Linked DNA regions of Homo sapiens: regions 1 and 2 are each linked to region 3. The links are contacts of gene promoters, found by promoter capture Hi-C in blood cells and fetal thymus (Javierre and others, 2016). All regions are on one chromosome and are shown on one strand. The core of a region is centred on a gene start or on the middle of the fragment in contact, and the rest is flanking DNA. Distances in the headings are between cores, read along the strand shown.

Region 1 (3,836 bases), core at 980-3,479, 1.4 Mb after region 3:
CCATAGTCTTCAAAACGATCAGAAACTGGCAACACTGGAAAAATCTAAAACTGAGTGTAAAAACAGGTTTCTAAATAAGGAGATGTGGGTAAAGTTGTTTGAGAAGCAGTTAGATTCCCAAATCCCTGACCCCAACCTAGAGGAAACAGAGGAGGGATGTCTTGAGAGTAGGTATCTGGTGATCGCACATCTAGTGCTAAATGCAGACAACCCTAGTCTTCTTCCCCAATCCGACTCCCAGAATGCTGGCAGCCAGAGCTTTATCCTCCAGAAAGGAAAGAGAAAAACTCTTTTCTGCAGAATCTGACCTGCTTAAGAGCAAGACCTAGATACTAACTGCAGAGGTTCCTCTACAAATGGCCCACCCAGATTCCACTTCAGTGAAGATCAAAGTTAAGTCTTTCCCACAGGCTCAGTGTGCCCATCAGTTTTTTAGTCTCACACTTTACTGATCATGAGCAGAGAGCAAAGGAATTAGACACTCGATGAAGAAAGCCTCTATCAAGAAGATGGAACCCAAAATAAGCAAAGAAAAGAAGGCAACTTTGGAGGACAGAGAAGCTTCAAAAATATGTTATCAAAAAGGAAAAGAGAGAATATATTGCATCCGTGAAACAAAAACAAGATACCACAAAAAAGAAACATGCAGAAAATTAGAAAAGTACTCTAAGACATTAAAATATAATAGCAGAAATGGAAACTGTGATAGGTGGGTAGGAAGAGAAAGTTGAGAAAATCTGTCAGAAAAGTGGAACCAAAAATCAAAGTGATGAAAAACAGAAAGGAAAGAAAGTTAGAGTACCATTCTAAGAGGTCCAACATCTGAGTAATGGGGCAAAGAAATCATCAATGAAACAATTCAAGAACATTTCTTGGAAGCAAAGAACATGAGATTACAGATAGAAAAGGCCCACAGAAAAACAGGCACAATGGACATATCATAAAATTTCAGAACTCTAAGAAGAAAAATAATTTCCTAAACTCTCAGAGAGAATAAAACTAATTACATGCAAAGGATTGGAAATATGATCCTTTATCTCTTTTAGAGAAAAATACTGAATATTTACAATAAAACAGAGTAATTCTGGATTTTGATTTAAAATAATTGAAAGTTGGCCATGTGTGGTGGCTCACACCTGTAATCCCAACACTTTGAGAGGCCGAGGTGGGCAGACTGCTTTAGCCCAGGAGTTTGAGACCAGCCTGGGCCACATGGCAAAACCCCATCTCTACAGAAAATTAGCCAGGCGTGGTGGTGCACACCTATAATCCCAACTACTCAGGAGTCTGAGGTGGGAGGATTCCTTGAGGCCAGGAGTTCAAAGCTGCAGTGAACCATGATCGCACCACTACACTCCAGCCTGAGTGACAGAGCCAGACCCTGCCTCAAAAAAGGAAGTAAATAAACAAATAAAATAAAATAATTAAAAGGTCAGAAGTGGGGGATGTGCTGTAGAGGCAATGCAACTGGCTATACATTGACAATTGTGGAGTGATGGGTACATGGGAATTCATTATATTATATATTCATCATATAATTCTCTTTGAACATATTTTAAATTTTCTATAATACAGAGTTCTTTTTATAAACAAAGAAGGAATGATAGGAATGATTTAGATTTCTTAGCAACACCGGAAGCAAGAAGACAATGAAGCAATGGCTTCAAACTCCTGAAAGAAAACTATTTCCAAAGTAGAATTCTATACCTAGACAAACTGTAAATCAAGTGCAAGGGAAGTGCCCAAACAGATGAATCGGCCTTAGCTGAATCAATGGCTGTCCATCCATTTCTCTTGGAAGTAAGACAGAGTATTTGGATACTGAAACAAGTAGGTTTGTATATTTGATAATGGAAATAGGAGGTATTTCTCTTTAATGTGCTTCTGATTGCTTTACTTTGAGGAACTCATATCTAATGGAAAACATGGATGTATAAACAGGTAATGTTTATGTGTACCAAAACAAAATATACTAAGTTCTCCAATAGAGCTATGTTTAGCAGCTTATGGGACTCCAGCTTTGTGCCTCAAGAAAGGATTTATGGAGCTAGTAATGCCCGAGATAAGCCTTAAAGAATGTATAGCAGTTACACAAGTAAAGAAGGAAGGAAAAAGTATTCAAGGTGGTGAAATCACAATTAATAAAGGCATAAAGGAATAAAACATCATGGTGTATGTAGAATACTAGCACAGAACCAAACACAAGGTTGGGCCCCGTGGTTCACGCCTGTAATCCCAGCACTTTGGGAGGCCAAGGCAGGAGGATCACTTGAGGCCAGGAGTTCGACAACAGCCTGAGCAACACAGCAAAACCTTGTCTCTACAAATATTTTTTTTAAAAAAACTAGCTGGGTGTGGTGGCATGTGCTGTGGTCCTAGCTCCTCAAGAGGCTGAGGCAGAGGATCGCTTGAGCCCCAGCAGTCAAGGCTGCAGTGAGCTGTGATCATGCCACTGCGCTACAGCCTGGGTGACAATAATGCTTATTGACATGGACCTGGCATATCTAGTGAGACTAGAGATCATAGATGAAATTGGAAAGTATTATGCAGCTATTGGTTATCTGAATGTTGGGTTTATTGTCATGAAACAGCAGAGTCAGGAAACAAGGTGTTGGCCAGGCGCGGTGGCTCACACCTGTAATCCCAACACTCTGGGAGGCCGAGACGGGCGAATCACTTGAGGTCAGGAGTTTGAGACCAGCCTGGCCAACATGGCAAAACTCCATCTCTACTAAAAATACAAAAATTAGCCAGGCATTGTGGCACACGCCTGTAATCCCAGCTACCCAGGAGGCTGAGGCAGGAGAATTGCTTGAACCCGGGAGACGGAGATTGCAATGAGCCAAGATCTCACCACTGCACTCCAGCCTGGGTGACAGAGTGAGACTCCAGAAAAAAAAAAAGAAAGAAGGAAGGAAGGAGAGAAAGAGAGAGAGAGAGAGGAAAGAAAGAAAGAAAGAAAGAAAGAAAGAAAGAAAGAAAGAAAGAAAGAAAGAAAGAAAGAGAAGGAAGAAAGAGAGAGAAGGAAGGAGGGAAAGAAGGAAGGAAGGAAAGAAGGAAGGAAGGAAGGAAAGAAAGAAAGAAGAAAGAAGGAAAGAAAGAAAGAAAGAAAGAAAGAAAGAAAGAAAGAAAGAAAGAAAGAAAGAGAAAGAAAGAAAGAAAGAAAAGAAAGCAAGAAAGCTAAAAACTGTATTCTGCAGTAGAAGTTAAGGATCTAGAAAGTTTAGGAAACAACCAAGATGGTAAGTTCCTTAAGATCTTAAATGTAAACTGGTAGAAGTCTCCTACCAGTGGACTTCTACACTCAGTCTTAGGAATAGTCTGGATGGCTCACAGTTCACAAATTTGTTTACTAAGGTTGAATTTAGCCCTGGCTTATATTTCATTTATTTAATTCAGCAATGTTTATCATCATTTATTCATTTGCCAGTTGATTCTACAAAAAATTTTAAGCACCTATTTATATAGACACTGTTGACATAAAACAGTCTTTGTGGTGTCTATAGTCCAATGAGAGAGGCAGATGCTAAAGAAATATAGGCACAATTAATACATAAAAGGCATTTTTATGTGGCACACAGTCCATACCATATGACCCAACCAGAAGGTTCAAGTATTTCAGTACAATTTAGGTCAACTTCAATATTAAAAATACTTCCTAAGTACAATAGTAATTTTTAGTGCATATTATAAACAAGGGCCAAGAAAAAAAAACCCTAATTTGATCTTTATATTTGTTAGTTCTTAATGAAAATACTAATTGCTCTTTACCCATTTCTGTGAAACTCTAAATTTTTATTTGTGATGAGTCCAGGTCTATTGGATAGACTTTCAGC
Region 2 (3,793 bases), core at 608-3,107, 1.4 Mb after region 3:
CTTTTAGTATTATAATAATCTCTGTTTTATAATCATAACCTAGAAAACACCAGGCCATACAGAGTCAGGAGCTGAAGGGACATGGTGAGAAGTAACCAAAGGACAAGAGTGTGAGCCCTCTGTCACGCCCGGATAAGGGCCGCTTGAGGGTTCCTTGGTCTAGCGGTAAGGTCAGTGCCTGGGAAAGCACCCATTACTTGGCAGACCTTGGTCTAGCGGTAGGGCCAGTGCCTGGGAAGGCACCCGTTACTCGGCAGACCTTGGTCTAGCGGTAGCGCCAGTGCCTGGGAAGGCACCCGTTACTTAGCAGACCGGGAAAGCGAGTCTCCCTTTCCCCGGGGGGAGTTAGAGAACACTGCTCCACCAACTCTTGTGGGAGTCCTGACATTAGCCAGGCCTGCCCGCAGTCATCTGGAGGCTTAAACATCTGTGGTGCTGTGCTTCAGTGGTCATGCTCCTTGTCCACTTTCATGTTCTGCCTGTACACCTGGCACCTCCTTTTAAGTTCTTAAAAGATAGCAGTAACAAAATTAGTGAAAGTACTAAAGTCTTTGATCTTCCTGATAAGTGCACAGAAGAAATGCTGACATATACTGTCCTCCCTCTCTGCTTCAGCTATCACAAAGGGAAAGGCCCCCCGTCACGTGGACACGTGACTTGCTTGACCTTATTAATCATTTGAGATGACTCAAACTCCTTACCCTGCCCCCTTGCCTTGCATACAATAAATAGCAGTGTGTCCAGGCATTCAGGGTCACTACCAGGCTTCGCGCATTGGTGGTAGTGGTCCCCTGGGCCCAGCTGTGTTTCCTTCTATTTCTTTGTCTCATGTCTATTTTTCTACAATCTCTCATCTCTGCACACTAAGGAAAAACCCACAGGCCCTGTAGGGCTGGACCCTACACTACTAAAAATACAAAATTAGCGGGGCATGGTGCATGCTTGTAATCCCAGCTACTTCGGAGGCTGAGGCAGGAGAATCACTTGAACCTAGGAGACGGAGGTTGCAGTGAGCTGAGATTGAGCCATTGCACTCCAGCCTGGGCTACAAAAGCAAAGCTCTGTTTCAAAAAAAAAAAAAGAAGAAAGAAAAAGAAAGTATAGGGCATTAATTATAGTAACTTGTGCACAGTTTCATCATTTGTGCCAAATGATCATGTAACAAAATTATGACTATGCCTATTGTGTATTATGTGTGTGTGCACATTAACTATCAAAATGTCCATATTTTGTATCTGCAACAAACTTATATATTGGCAGCAACTACAGCGCTATTGGCCAATTACAACAACAACATGAAACACAGACACCGAGAGAAGAAACGTTATCTAAACCCAAAGTGTGAGTGTCTCAGAGCACATATTTTCCAAATGTCAGTTAACAGGGAAAACTAACAGATACCATAACCAGTGACATTCCCTCCCTGCCCTGAATTATGGTGAAAGTGTATGAATTATATGCCCCATTTTCAGCTATACAATTTAGAGCTCCACTGGAGTTCTGTGGAAGACCAAGTGAGGAGCTTTCAGTTTTGGAAAGTAGATACTCATATGACATAAATGGTCTAGATTCAGGAAAAAGAACAGCTAGGCCTTGGTGATGGCTTCTGAATGCAGTTTGTACAATTTACAACTCAAGTGTCATGTGATATCATTTCTGTGGGGATTCTCGTTCAAAAATAATGAGACTAATGTTGATAAACGATCGAGATTTTTATTATGAGTTTCCGTAAAGGTGTAACACAGGGGTCTCTCCCAGAAAAATAGAAAGTAAAGCTTCCAACAATACTTCTCTATATCTCTCCTCCCTCCAAAGTTCCCTACTTATGACGGCTGCTAAAATTCTCCTCCTCTTTCAATCTCCCAATCCTTCCATGTTGTTATCTCACAGTTTTCTTTCTACCCTGTTCACTACCTTCTTCCCACATGGTGTAAAAGTGAGAAGCTTCTCTTGTACCCCTGCCCACCAACCATACATAGAAGACAGCTAATGGCCTCCCATTTCTCTCTCTCTTCTTGGCAAGAAGCATGTAGCATCCCCTACAAAGTATATTTTTCTCCTCCTGAATGATTTTTGCATGAGACATTTTCTTACAGAGAAATTCCGGGGACTAACATTCTCTACTTTGTTTTATGTATATATAATAAAGTATATAATATACATATAAAACAAAGGTGTATATATAAAGCCAGATATATATATCTGACTCATTGCAGCCTCAACCACCTGGGCTCAAGCAATCCTCCCACCTCAGCTTCCTGAGCAGCTAGGACTACAAGGCTGTGTCACCATGCCGGGCTAATTTCTAATTATTTTGTAGAGATAGGGTATCTCTATGCACCCAGGCTGATCTCAAACTCCCGTCTCAAACGATCCTCCTGCTTTGGCCTCCCAAAGTCCTGGGATTATAGGCATGAGCCACCACACCTGCCCCTTCTACTCTGTTGTATTTAGAAGGAGAGAATCTTATGGGAGAAATTCCTGTTTTAACTTGTTTTAATCTATTACATAGAAACTGTCTACAGGACTATACTAGATTTCTACTTTTCGTTAGTGAAGAAGAAAGTTGTTATACGGAAAAATCTTTTAATTTTTTCATTTTTTTGAGACAGACTCTCACTCTGTCGCTGTGCTAGAGTGCAGTGGCACGATCTCTCCCTATGTTTTCTCCTATTAGTTTTATAGTTTCAGGTTTTTAAGTCTTTAGTCCATTTTGAGTTGATTTTTGTATATGGTGTACCACAAGCTTTGTAAACACCCTGCCATCATAGTGGTGCTCTGACTTATCAATATTCTTTTTTAAAAGTGTGTCCTTTCTAACTGAATTAGTATGTTCAACAATTTTATTTATTTATTTATTTATTTTTGAGACAGAGTCTCACTCTGCTGCCCAGGCTGGAGTGTGTAAGTGGCACAATTATGGCTCACTGCAGGCTTGACCTCCTAGGCCCAAGTGGTCCTCCTGCCTCAGCCTCCTGAGTAGCTAGGACCACAGGCACACGCCACCACACCTGGCTAATTTTTTAACTTTTTGTACAGACAAGGTCTCACTCTGTTGCCCAGGTTGGTCTCAAATTCCTGGGCTTAAGTGATCCTCCCACCTTGGCCTCCAAAACTGTTGGGATTACAGGTGTGAGCCACTGTGTCTGCCCCAACAACATTTTTTGTCTAGCTTTTTCTCTTTTAAAGAAACAGTTGTGTTTTACATTTTTCAGGTAATTGAAGTTTATCCTTTCAACTAGTAAAAAAAGTTTTAAAACCAATCCTTTGTAACACAGAAATACCCCTTCGTATGATCTTTTAACTTAGTTTTATACATAAAAATAAATCTAGGCTGGGCATGGTGGCTCACACCTGTAATCCCAGCACTTTGGGAGGCCAAGGCTGGAGGATTACTTGAGAGACCAACCTGGGCAACACAGCAAGACTTCACCTCTACTAAAAATTTTAAAAAATTAGCCCGGTGTGGTGGTGCACTCCTGTAATCCCAGCTGCTTGGGAGGCTAATGCAGGAGGGTCACTTGAGCCTAGGAGGTCAAGGCTGCAGTGAGCTGTAATTGCACCACTGCATTCTAGCCTGGGCAACAGAGTGAGACCCTGTCTCAAATGAATGAACGAATACATAAATCTACCTTCTAGAACCATAGTATAGTAACTTTGTCTCCTTCCAGCAGATGGCACTGAAGATTGTGCACAGTAATTTAGTAATTTTAGTCTAGGGCAGTGCTTCCCAGCCTCTTCATGTTATAACATAGCTAGAAAATAAGGATATTTTTGTTGGGTAAAAGACAAG
Region 3 (3,292 bases), core at 334-2,833:
CTATTTCTTTACGGCACCAAGAAATAAGCATTTCTAGCAGTCCTTAACCGCCATAATGCCCTAAATTAGACCATGACCAATTGGACTCAAATACTTTGAACTATCTTTATTGCCTGAACTTTGAATTGTTTAATTTTGATCAGTTCAGTTTGTGGAGACTCCTGTTAAGGTGTGTACCTCAGTTTATTGCTATACTCCTTCTCGTGGCCATAATAGTCTCCCTGATGTGTTGTTGTCCCCTCGAGAGTCTTCAATGTCTCTATGCAGCCATCCTTTGTACACCAAATGGTGTTATTACAGTTAGAATAACAACATGAAGAAAGTATAATCACTCAACTAATTTGACATTGTGACTTCCATACTGAGACAAAACAAGGTTCTGGTCAATCTCGTAAAACTGAGAGGCTGACCCAAAGGAGGAAACTGTTATTAAATTAAATCTGGCCTAAAGTTGCCTCCCTACCTAGCAAAGCATAATCAAACCTAATATGTAAATAAACTGCAATGTAATTTGAGAGTACGTTCTTCTAACAAGTGGCCAAGTCTTGGCCAATCACCGCAGCGGAGCTTTTAGCCCATTACAGGCTGCAAAAAATATTGTCTATAAACGCGGCTTGCCCACTGTTAGGGGCTGGAGCTCTCTGAACCTTTACTGGCTCAGGATACTACATGATTCATGCTTTCTTTGCTCAGATAAACTCTGCTAAACTTGTTTGAAGTTTTTTTGTTAACAATATTTAAACATAAAGCAAATAAATTAATAAGAATCCTATATCACTAAGTTACAGTAATTAGAAAGTATTCACCTGAGTGAGAAGATTGGCCAAGCTGCTATCCAGTCTTCCATTATTTGACAAGACATTTCTTTCCTATGCTTTCTAATAGTATTCGTTATTCCAGAAAGGTTGCTCTATGACCTTAAACCGTCCACATGTTCACTGCACTGATAGACGTCCAACGTCAAGATGGGTAACTAAAGGTCAACTCTCTCTTTACCTTCCCTGAGCCTGATTTTTGCATTGTAACTCATGGTCACTAGACATTTGTTTTGGGTGTTCGCAGTCTACATTTATTTCCCTTTTAGGGGAAACAATCACTGTCCACGGGATTAAAATAATCCCGAGTTGATTATTTGGTGACATCAACCAACGGTGCACATTTTGGGTCCATTACCAACACAGCCAAGCAGCACATATTTCTTCAGAGCCTAGATATGCACATGTCATCAAAGGATAGCATTTTACAGAGTCAACACCACTCACTTCATAGAACAAGGGGCCAGTGGCTTTTCAGAAGAAGGGTCTGTTCTCGGCCCCACACCAGAACGCCAGCCGCCAGGTCCCGCTGCTCAGCAGGTCTCAAGCCCGCGCTCACTCGGGCTCCGGCTGCTGACAGCTGCGAGCCCGCGCGTGTATACCCGCTCAACGCTGGGACGTTACAGCCAGGGCCAATGGGCAGAGCGGGACTCGAGGCCCCGCCCCCGCCTTGTGGCGTCACGGGGACGCCGGGGGCGCGCGGGCTGCAGGGCCGCGTAGGTCCCCGCCCCCAGAGTCTGGCTTTCCGCGGCTGCCCGCCTCGCGCGTCTTCCCTGCCCGGGTCTCCTCGCTGTCGCCGCCGCTGCCACACCATGGCCTTCGTCACCAGGCAGTTCATGCGTTCCGTGTCCTCCTCGTCCACCGCCTCGGCCTCGGCCAAGAAGATAATCGTCAAGCACGTGACGGTCATCGGCGGCGGGCTGATGGGCGCCGGCATTGCCCAGGTGAGCGGCCCTCCCTGCAGCGTGCCCACGCGCTTGGCCGCCCACCCTGAGGTGGAAGCTCTGGCGCGACCGGCCGCGAGGGGCCTGCACCCGCCCGACACCAGGGAGTTTTCACCCCGCGCCTCCCGGGTGTAGTTGAAATATCTCGCGTCTGGGCCTGTGAGGGCCCAAGTCTCACTCCCCTCAAAATTCAGGGTTCTGGGCCGATCCTCAGCTTCCTCGTTTGGAAAATTCTGGCTGCCCCCAGGGCCCGCTGAAGGTTCCATGGAGAGTGGCGGTGAATGCATTTTGGAAGCGGGCCGTGCAAGAGAAGAAAGAATTGTATGTGCACAAGGTTCAGGCATAACGCGTTTGTTCCTGCTCGGCTCAAACGGGAGTTTGCTGCCAAAGACATGAACTGCGATCAGTTTTAATTCTATCAGTTATTTTTGATTTTTATTCTGTAATTGTGCAGTCTTTGTCAAAGTAGTTTTCTCTCCTAAACGGCCTCCCGGCTCTCCCCGGTCTTTCCTTCGCTTGCTAGGTTGTAAAGAATAGTAGTAGTCATGACTTTTGTAGCACTTTGTAAAGTCACCTAATGGAAGATTGCTGAGGTCCTGGTTTTGACCTTTGAAATAGTGCCGTCTGTGCAGAGTTCTGAGCTTGCGATTTTGGCGCTGCAGCGGAATAAGTCTCTCTCTTTTTTTTTTTTTTTTTTTTTTTGAGTCGGAGTCTCTTTGACCCAGGCTGGAGTGGAGTGCAATGGCGCGATCTCGGTTCACTGCAACCTCCGCCTCCCGGGTTCAAGCGATTCTCCTGCCTCAGCCTCCCGAGTAGCTGGGATTACAGGCGCCCCGCCCGGCTAATTTTATATTTTTAGTAGAGACAGGGTTTCACCTTGTGGGTCAGGCTGATCTCGAACTCCTGACCAAAGGTGATCCGCCCGCCTGGCCTCCCGAAGTGCTGGGATTACAGGCGTTAGCCACTGCACCCAGCCGGAACAAGTCTTTTATCCATTGTACATCTTCAGGGCTTTTCCATTGTTCTGCTGAGCTGTGGTTCAGGCTCAGTTGTGCGAGTGATTGATTACCTGGCTACTGTAATGCTTGTACTTTTTTTTTTTAAAAATTATTCCATTTCAGCTCACATTGGAGAACCATGGTTTTCGTATCCTAGCTGATTATATTCTTAGCATTTCAGTCCTTTGCAACTTGGTTTGTTGGGGAAGGCGGTTATAGTCATCTAATTTTTCTTGGGGACAGTACTACTGTGGCTACAGTCATGAGAGAGTTTACTTTTTCAATGTCTTGTTTCCAACCAAGTCCACGCTTTCATGCTTGCTTTTTAAAAACAAAAACAAAAAAACCTTTTACTATTAGGTATTATATATCTCAATTTTCTTCTCCTTGGCAAGTTTTTTACAACGTTTTTATTTGATTGCATTTTCTTCTAAAAGCTATATCCCTGTAATGTTTTATTTATATGACTTCTTACAGTCTCCCATTTCCTCTGAGACCATAATTTTGGACATACATTGCCCTTTTTATTGTGTGG

Evidence for each region. The method cuts DNA at HindIII sites, captures the fragments that hold promoters and counts their contacts. A CHiCAGO score of 5 or more calls a contact.
Region 1: a contact is called between a fragment that was not itself captured here and the fragment with the promoter of HADH in region 3, in 3 of 17 cell types (naive CD8 T cells, total CD8 T cells and non-activated CD4 T cells). The highest score is 6.8, in naive CD8 T cells.
Region 2: a fragment that was not itself captured here is called in contact with the fragment with the promoter of HADH in region 3 in 5 of 17 cell types (naive B cells, naive CD8 T cells, activated CD4 T cells and 2 more); the score reaches 7.4 in naive B cells.

Annotation. Positions count from the first base shown.
Region 1 is chr4:109,401,367-109,405,202 of GRCh38, forward strand. No RefSeq gene overlaps it. Among named protein-coding and RNA genes, the nearest start is that of SEC24B, 31 kb to the right of the region's middle. The HindIII fragment of the contact is 3,341 bases long and covers 560-3,836 here.
Region 2 is chr4:109,424,031-109,427,823 of GRCh38, forward strand. No RefSeq gene overlaps it. Among named protein-coding and RNA genes, the nearest start is that of SEC24B, 7.9 kb to the right of the region's middle. The HindIII fragment of the contact is 169 bases long and covers 1,774-1,942 here.
Region 3 is chr4:107,988,306-107,991,597 of GRCh38, forward strand. It overlaps HADH (hydroxyacyl-CoA dehydrogenase), which reads left to right and starts at 1,584. Exons shown (of 8, transcript NM_005327.7): 1 at 1,584-1,759. The coding sequence starts at 1,628. RefSeq lists a silencer at 1,351-1,580. The HindIII fragment of the contact is 11,946 bases long and covers 1-3,292 here.